Regions from separate parts of the Homo sapiens genome. Here region 2 is linked to region 1. Evidence: promoter capture Hi-C in 16 types of primary human blood cells and fetal thymus (Javierre and others, 2016). All regions are on one chromosome and are shown on one strand. The core of a region is centred on a gene start or on the middle of the fragment in contact, and the rest is flanking DNA. Distances in the headings are between cores, read along the strand shown. Region 1 holds the start of IL4 (interleukin 4). Region 2 overlaps SLC22A5 (solute carrier family 22 member 5).

Region 1 (4,637 bases), core at 1,317-3,816:
GCCATTGTACGACATGGTGACAACAGTTGATATCAATGTCTTGTATACTTAAAAATCATGAAGACAGGCCAGGCGCAGTGGCTCACACCTGTAATCCCAGCACTTTGCAGGGGCTGAGGTGGGTAGATCACCTGAGGTCAGGAGTTCGAGACCAGCCTGGCCAACATGGTAAAACCCTGTCTCTATTAAAAATACAAAAATTAGCTGGGCGTGGTGGCAGGCACCTGTAATCCCAGCTACTCGGGAGGCTGAGGCAGGAGAATTGCTTGAGCTCAGGAGGCAGAGGTTGCAGTGAGCTGAGACTGCGCCATTGCACTCCAGTCTGGGCAACAGAGCAAGACTCTATCTCAAAATAAATAAATAAATCACAGAGTAGATTTTAAATGTTCTTACCAAAAATAAATATGTGAAGTATTGTATAAGTAGCTTGATGTAGCAATTCCATAACATGCACATTTCAAAACATTATATCATACAGCACAAATATGTGCAATACTTATTTGTCAATTTAATAATAATAATAATAAGGGAAGAAAAGATCCAAAACAGAGGCAAAACCTTGGCCGGGCATGGTGGTTCACGCCTATAATCCCAGCACTTTGGGAGGCTGAGGTGGGTGGATCATTTTGAGGCCAGGAGTTCGACACCAGCCTAGCCAACATGGTGAAACCCCATCTCTACTAAAAAAAAAAAAAAAATACAGAAATTAGCCAGGCGTGGTGGCATGTGCCTGTAATCCCAGCTACTCGGGAAGCTGAGGCTGGAGAATGCCTTGAGCCCAGGAGATCAAGGCTACAGTAAGCTATGATCACCACTGCACTCCAGCCTGGGTGACAGAGTATGGGGGCAGGGGGTGGTGAGGGGGGGGCGGGGAAGTGGAACAGAGGCAAAACCTTAGCAACACACATTTTTAGATGATCTTCCAGAATAAATTCATAGGGAGGCCCAGGCACAGTGGCTCACGCCTGTAATCCCAGCACTTTGGGAGGCCGAGGCAGGCGGATCACGAGGTCAGGAGATGGAGACCATCCTGGCTAACACGGTGAAACCCCGTCTCTACTAAAAATACAAAAAATTAGCCGGGCGTGGTGGCAGGTGCCTGTAGTCCCAGCTACTCGGGGAGGCTGAGGCAGGAGAACGGCATGAACCCAGGAGGCGGAGCTTGCAGTGAACTAAGATCACGCCACTGCACTCCAGCCTGGGTGACAGAGCAAGATTCCATCTCAAAAAAAAAAAAAAAAAAAAGAAATTCATAGGGAAAAGAAGGTCAGAGACCAAGGGAAGGGAAGGTTCTGGGAGAAAAGCAGGGGGCAGGCAGGGCCCAAGAATCCTGCTGCCCATGAGCCCTTACTGGGAGGTGGGGTGGCCTTGCACAGGGCCCAGGCACCTGAGTGAGTGGTGGGGTCCTTACGTTCACTGCTGGGGTGAGGCAATGAGCACCTTATTGTGTCCACATGAATTCAATAAAAAACAAGCAGGGCGGGTGGTGGGGCACTGACTAGGAGGGCTGATTTGTAAGTTGGTAAGACTGTAGCTCTTTTTCCTAATTAGCTGAGGATGTGTTTAGGTTCCATTCAAAAAGTGGGCATTCCTGGCCAGGCATGGTGGCTCACACCTGTAATCTCAGAGCTTTGGGAGACTGAGGTAGGAGGATCACTTGAGCCCAGGAATTTGAGATGAGCCTAGGCAACATAGTGAGACTCTTATCTCTATCAAAAAATAAAAATAAAAATGAGCCAGGCATGGTGCGGTGGCACGCACCTACTGCTAGGGGGGCTGAGGTGGGAGGATCACTTGAGCCTGGGAGGTTGAGGCTGCAGTGATCCCTGATCACAACATTGCATTTCAGCCTGGGTGACAGAGTGAGACCCTGTCTCAGAAAAAAAAAAAAAAAAGTCATTCCTGAAACCTCAGAATAGACCTACCTTGCCAAGGGCTTCCTTATGGGTAAGGACCTTATGGACCTGCTGGGACCCAAACTAGGCCTCACCTGATACGACCTGTCCTTCTCAAAACACCTAAACTTGGGAGAACATTGTCCCCCAGTGCTGGGGTAGGAGAGTCTGCCTGTTATTCTGCCTCTATGCAGAGAAGGAGCCCCAGATCAGCTTTTCCATGACAGGACAGTTTCCAAGATGCCACCTGTACTTGGAAGAAGCCAGGTTAAAATACTTTTCAAGTAAAACTTTCTTGATATTACTCTATCTTTCCCCAGGAGGACTGCATTACAACAAATTCGGACACCTGTGGCCTCTCCCTTCTATGCAAAGCAAAAAGCCAGCAGCAGCCCCAAGCTGATAAGATTAATCTAAAGAGCAAATTATGGTGTAATTTCCTATGCTGAAACTTTGTAGTTAATTTTTTAAAAAGGTTTCATTTTCCTATTGGTCTGATTTCACAGGAACATTTTACCTGTTTGTGAGGCATTTTTTCTCCTGGAAGAGAGGTGCTGATTGGCCCCAAGTGACTGACAATCTGGTGTAACGAAAATTTCCAATGTAAACTCATTTTCCCTCGGTTTCAGCAATTTTAAATCTATATATAGAGATATCTTTGTCAGCATTGCATCGTTAGCTTCTCCTGATAAACTAATTGCCTCACATTGTCACTGCAAATCGACACCTATTAATGGGTCTCACCTCCCAACTGCTTCCCCCTCTGTTCTTCCTGCTAGCATGTGCCGGCAACTTTGTCCACGGACACAAGTGCGATATCACCTTACAGGAGATCATCAAAACTTTGAACAGCCTCACAGAGCAGAAGGTGAGTACCTATCTGGCACCATCTCTCCAGATGTTCTGGTGATGCTCTCAGTATTTCTAGGCATGAAAACGTTAACAGCTGCTAGAGAAGTTGGAACTGGTGGTTGGTGGCAGTCCAGGGCACACAGCGAGGCTTCTCCCCTGCCACTCTTTTTTCTGAGGGTTTGTAGGAAGTTTCCTCAGTTGGAGGGAGTGAGAGCTGCTCATCAAGGACTTCTCTGTCCGGTTGGAGGTTAACTCTGTCTCTTGCTCTCTCATTTCTGCCTGGACCAAGACTCTGTGCACCGAGTTGACCGTAACAGACATCTTTGCTGCCTCCAAGGTAAGAAGCCGTCCCACGGTCTGTTTTAGCAAATGGGGAGATCCATCCCCAAATGTCTGAACAAGAAACTTGTCTAATGGAAAACGAGCGGGCCCAAATTAACTCTAAGGTGTTAGATGTTTTCAAAGAACGAGAAGTCTGATCTTTACTCTTAAGCATGTTTTGGTCTTTCTGGTTTCACTTGATTTAGAAGACATGTAATAGAAAGCTTACATGCTGTAGTCCTGACTCAGATCCTGGTCAAAGAAAAGCCCTCTTGGGTTTTACTTAGCTTTGGCATAGTGCCTGGAACGTAGGAGGCACTCAATAAATGCCTGTTGAATGAGAGAATTTTTCTGGCCCATACATTTCTGAAAAACCAAATACTCTCACAGAAACAGATATTGAGATGACAGGTTGAGGGAGCTTTCATTTTGTCTAAGAGACTTCCTATGGCAACAGAAAAGGTATCGCCAGAGCCCCTCCTCTTCCACAGCCTGGCCACCTAACAGCCCTCTGGGTTCCGGGGCTGGCCGTCCAGAGCTCCTCAGCTTGCTCTGGCCGGCCGAACTCCCCTCCAGCTCGGTCTGGAACCATCCTGCTGGGCAGCGTCCAGCACATCCCTGCTTCGGGCTGCCTGGGCACCTCGCCTCTCTGCCTCCTGTGCTGCCTCACCCCCACCCCTCTATCTGTAGTGGGAGGAGATAGATTTGACAGCTGATAGTGCATTTTCTCTGACAAACACATGACTACAGCCGTATCAATAGTTTTGTGCATTTCAGTTCCTGTTTTCATGGAAACACACGGCTGAGAATGAAAGCCCCAAAGCCTCAATTTCACAGTGGTCTCCTAACTACCTGCTTTCCATGCAAACTAGGGAGATGATATGGCCAGGAGTGAAGCCCTGTGTGTTGGGCAGGGTCACACTCCAGCACCCAGACCATAGAACAGGGCCCATCCTGCTTCATGAGGGAAACTGCTCTTCGGGCCTTTAGCTGGACTATCTCATTTCATTAGTTATCCCGGGAGTCCGATACAGGATGAGATTCTGAAGGGCAAATACACACTTTTTTTTTTTTTTGAGATAGGGTCTTGTTCTGTCACCCAGGCTGGAGTGCAGTGGTGCGATTTCAGCTCATAGCAGCCTCCACCTCCCAGGCTCAAGCTATCTTCCTACCTCAGCCTCCCAAGTAGCCGGGACGACAGGTGTGCACCACCACGCCTGGCTAATTTTTGTATTTTTTTGTAGAGATGGAGTCTTGCCATTTTGCCCAGGCTTGTCTCGAACTTCTGGGCTCAAGCAATCCGTCCACCTCGGCCTCTCAAAGTGCTGGGATTAGCCACTGCACCTGGGCAACAGTTTATGTGTGTGTGTGTGTGTGTGTGTGTGTGTATATATGTGTGTGTGTATATATATGTGTGTATGTATATATGTGTATGTATATGTGTGTGTGTGTGTGTGTGTGTGTGTATAAAATCTCCAAGTCCATCCAACCGAGATGGCTCCTACTAGAAGCCAAGAGTCCACCGGGTTGAGCACTGGGTCTCTGGAGGCCTGTGGCACTGCTGAGAAG
Region 2 (4,637 bases), core at 950-3,449, 290 kb before region 1:
TCTCCACACTCAAAAGAGCCAAAACAAAACAGAATCCCATGACAGCAACAGACTTGCTCTCAGCCCTGTGCTGGGTTGCCCCAAGTGTGGGGAAAAATAGCAGTAGCTGTGAGAAGATGGGGTCCAGCATGCCCTGTAGGAAGTTCCCAAGCCTCAGGGCAGGACAGTGTAGGCCCTAGTTCTGGCTGTGTGCTGCTGAAGCCTCATGCCACAGGCACTGGCACCAAAAGCAAGAGTCCTCAGGGTAGCCACATGGAGGAAGCCAGGCTCCTTCTGCACCACCAAGGTAGAGGAGTTGAACAGGCAGAGAAGAGGCCATTCCAGACCAAGAGGGGAACACTGCAGAGGTGCTAAGGTGGGAATCACCCCTTGCAGGTGGAGAAGGTGAGATCACCAGCCCAAGTGGAGCAGAGAGCATTTCAGGGCATAGTGGGAGAGTAAGCCGCACATCATGGGGCCCAGTCATGACCGAGGGTGGGGGGCGGCTACCTGGTCCCAGCAAGGTGGAAAATAATATCCATAGAGCACTCAAGTGCCTTGATAAACATGCTAATTTTTTTCCTTTTTTTCTTTTCTTTTTCTTTTCTTTTTTTTTCTTTTTTTTTTCTCAGACAAAGTCTCTGTTGCCCAGGCTGTAGTGCAGTGGCGTGATTTCCACTTACTGCAACCTCCGCCTCCCCAGTTCAAGCGATTCTCATGTCTCAGCCTCCCGAGTAGCTGGGACTACAGGTGCCTGCCACCACACTTGGCTAATTTTTTTTGTATTTCTTTGGAGAGACGGGTTTCACTGCGTTGGCCAGGCTGGTCTGGAACTCCTAGCCTCAAATGATCCACCGGCCTTGGCCTCCTAAAGTGCTGGGATTATAGGAGTGAACCACTGCACCTGGCCAAACATGCTATTTTAGGTAGAGTATCTGACTAATCTGTTGGATAAATCAGGGGTAGGGTGAGGAGAGAAGAGAAGCTAAAAGGCCAGTGCAGAAGCTTCTGTTGGTGCCGGGGACAGGGAGGAGAGTGTAGCAGGGCCTGGGCTGACATAGACATGCACAGAAGCCAGGCTTCCGGAGCCCATCTTGCACCCATCTCCTCAGCCCAGCAGATGGCAACACTGCTCTTCAGAAATGGAGGTGGCCAGCCAGCATGGGGATGCCGTCAGGGGGTGCAGGGCTCTCCCATTTTTGTGCGGTGTGGGGTACACATAAGCTCATCCACCCCAGGTTATTGCTGCGTGTGGATCAGCTCTTTGCTTCTGGCTTGTGATCACCAAACATTCCACAAGCTCTGGTTCTGCAACCTTATTCCCACCTATGGCTGTGCTCTACCTGGTCTGTGGGTCTGCTGTTGGCAGGGAGGCCTCACTGAGATTGGACCTTGTACTGCCAGGTTCATCCCTGAGTCCCCCCGATGGCTCATCTCTCAGGGACGATTTGAAGAGGCAGAGGTGATCATCCGCAAGGCTGCCAAAGCCAATGGGATTGTTGTGCCTTCCACTATCTTTGACCCGAGTGAGGTAAGCACCATGTGGGTGTGGGTGAGAGGGACAGACTGACCGTGATTTGAGAGCAGCAGCACCCAGCCCTGAAGTCCTCCCTGCTCACAGCAGCCCAGCCCTCTCTCCGCCCAAGCCCCAACTGCCCATTCCCCCCATCCCCCCACTCCCCACCCCCACACGGGCCCTGTTAACACTCAGAAGTTGAGGAATAGGTTACAGCTGCCTCACTCTTTTCACCACGGGTTTCAGATTTTCATTTTTTACTTCCTTTCTAGGCAATCATATATTTTAACCATTACTTCTAACAATAAATACTCTTTTTGAGTAATAGGCCTTTCATAAAGTCAGCATTTGGGAAAATCATTGTTTCTTATACCTAAGGTGGCTTGTCACCTTACAAAGCTAACCCCAAACGTAAAATGTAAAGCACAAATAGATTTGGAGTTAGAAGTATTTCATCTCTTGAGTATTAGCAATTATTCATTAAAAAGAAAAAAAAAGTGTTTAGTCTCTTTCTGCCCTCCAATGGTTAATTATTGCATATCATCTTGGAGTCAGGTCCTTTTTGATGTCCACCTCTTCCCCCTACCCCACCCCTCCCGTCAGCCCTGTTCTCACACACCATGACTCATTTCTTGGCTCTACCTAGTTCCTGGTTCTTGCTTTTCCTTCCCGTTCCCTCTCCTACCATCTCTGTAGCAGGCAGTTTTCCTTGGTCTCGTGACTATGAGAGGTTAGAAGCTGTAAATGCTGCCTGGTGGGGTTCTGGAATGTGTCTGTGGTCTGACTGGAAGATGAGGGGTTGGGTGTGGGAACAGCCACAAGCAGCCCTGCTGAAGTGTGAGAGGCAGGCATGGTTGGGCTTGGAAAAGAGGGAACAGTTATTGTAGACAGCGGAGGCCAATGGCCACTGCCAGCCCTGCAGACTTCCCAGTGAGTGGTGGCCCAGCAGCCACTGTCAGCATGCACCAGAAAGGGGTCCTGTGCGCAAAGGTCAGGCAGGAGTGTGGCAGAGGGCTTTTAAGTTAGGTGGTTTTGGGGGCTTTTAAGTGAGGGGTCAATCTGGGTGAATGCATAAGCCCCACTGGCATCTTTGAGGAAATGAGGCTATTTCAGGGGATACTTTCAGTCCAAAGTTGACCTTTTGTTGAACTTCTAACTCTGGAAAAACAAGCTCCAAACCTGGGTTTGCTTAAGAAAGCAACATCAGTGTGTTTAGACGTGTGGTTTATTAATGGCCTTGGCTGTGCTGAATTTCATAGGAAGTCACTCTGGGTGAAGCTCAGGTCAATTTTCCTGTTTTTCTATTTGAATTCTTTTTCCCTGGAAGCACACCAGTAACTACATAGTATAAGGACTCAAAACATTAACTTTTAAAAAATATCAGACCAATAAACCACACAGCCAGGTACTCTCTCTGACCCAGAGGGCAGGGAGCCAGGCTTCGGGAGGAATACTTAGAGGCCTCCTTGGAATGTGGCCACCGACAGGAATATGTGGGGGTGCAGTGAGGAAGCTGTCAGCCTGGGCCTCTGTCTTCCTGTACCCTTGAGGGACTGGTCACTTACTTTTCCTCATTTTCATTCACTCTGATTTGTTACTGACAAGGCCTAGGGAAGTTTTCACAGCCTAAAACACAGTCAGTATACTTACTGTTCTTAGAAACGTAACACTCCCCGACGCTGAGATGCAGACAGCTAAGATGCCAGGGATTCAAGTATGTTATTGTGTGCTCTGAGTCTCTGACCACCTCTTCTTCCCATACACTTATGATGTTGTTCCTGCAGTTACAAGACCTAAGTTCCAAGAAGCAGCAGTCCCACAACATTCTGGATCTGCTTCGAACCTGGAATATCCGGATGGTCACCATCATGTCCATAATGCTGTGGTATGTAAAAGAGACCTGCCTGAGGCTTCCAGACAAAGCTTCTTGAAGTGGCCATTGGGCCTCTTGTTTACAGACATGCCTCAGACAAAATTCAAAGCCTATGTCATCAGAGAGTGAAAAGGATATGTCTTGTGTTAGATGGAAAAAATGGGCATGTCACAATTCTTAATGGGATGGAACCTCAGAAAAGGAGAATGAAAACAATTGTGGAGGCTGTTGTGGGAAATATGGACTCTTGTGGGGAATCTCTCCAGATCTTAAGATGAATCCTTGCCCAATTTGGGTCATTTAGTTCCCGTCTCCTACCCAGTTACCGACAGTGGCTGAGGAGGCCAGGTAGGGCTTTTAAGAAGGATCTGAGTGAAGACACCATGTCCTGTAGGCTGCAGAGGCTGCCAGTTACTTTCTGGAAATGTGGAAGTGGGATGTGCTCCTCCTGGGATGTCCATAAACGGTCCTGGAGTCAGGGCTATAGCCTAGATGTCCTTACCAGGTTCCCACTAATGAGGCAAAGTATGTCAGAAAGGGATTTGTGAATTACCAGGGAGAGGAAACATGTCCAAGTGCACATCGCTAGCTTTTGCTCAGCGGCCGAACCCTGGGATTCTAGGCGACTTCTGGAGCCTGGTGGGTTAGCGGTGAGAAGATGGGCGAGGAGGGCGGACTTCATCTCAGAGTCCTTATTACTAGTCTCATCCAGCTTTGAGGCAGTCAGCCACTGTGCCTACTGAGGGAGTGCTATGAGTCACCCGCTTCCAAGGAATGGCCCAGGATCCCTCCAGGCAGTTCACCATTCCCTGAGTTGGCCTCAAGACAGGAGCAGCATGTAGCCTGCACCACAGACATGCAAGCCTGTGATGAGTCACCCACTTTTGTGTTCACCCAGGCTCTCCTCCCTGCTCTGGATTTCCTGGGGACTCATGCACATACTCTTTTTATTGTACCAGCTGTGTGTTCCACCTGCAGATGAGTCAAAACAGTCTAATCCATAAAGGTCTGGTTTGTCAAAGAGTGTGGGTCATCAACAGAGAGAATGCCTACTGGGGATGCCCAGGTCAGGGGTACTGCAGGGCATCCTGATGAGAGGCAGTGTGGCCCCTCCATTGGGAGCCACCTCTGTGCTCCACAAGTACCGCGGGGCTGGTGTCAGCTGTCTCTGACCAGCCTCTTCCTGACTGGTCACCACAGGTAGTGTGTGAGGGTCTCTCTCCAAGTGTTTGACCTAATGTTGTTCCTTTTGTTATCTTATCCCCCAAA

What was found. Contacts are between HindIII fragments. The CHiCAGO score rates a contact against its expected background, and 5 or more counts as called.
Region 2: a fragment that was not itself captured here is called in contact with the fragment with the promoter of IL4 in region 1 in 1 of 17 cell types (endothelial precursors); the score reaches 5.9 in endothelial precursors.

Annotation. Positions count from the first base shown.
Region 1 is chr5:132,671,423-132,676,059 of GRCh38, forward strand. It overlaps IL4 (interleukin 4), which reads left to right and starts at 2,567. Exons shown (of 4, transcript NM_000589.4): 1 at 2,567-2,763; 2 at 3,037-3,084. The coding sequence starts at 2,629. The HindIII fragment of the contact is 7,466 bases long and covers 1-3,290 here.
Region 2 is chr5:132,385,642-132,390,278 of GRCh38, forward strand. It overlaps SLC22A5 (solute carrier family 22 member 5), which reads left to right. Exons shown (of 10, transcript NM_003060.4): 5 at 1,384-1,510; 6 at 3,280-3,380. Among named protein-coding and RNA genes, the nearest start is that of MIR3936HG, 18 kb to the left of the region's middle. RefSeq lists enhancers at 1-306, 800-849, 990-1,199. The HindIII fragment of the contact is 2,434 bases long and covers 983-3,416 here.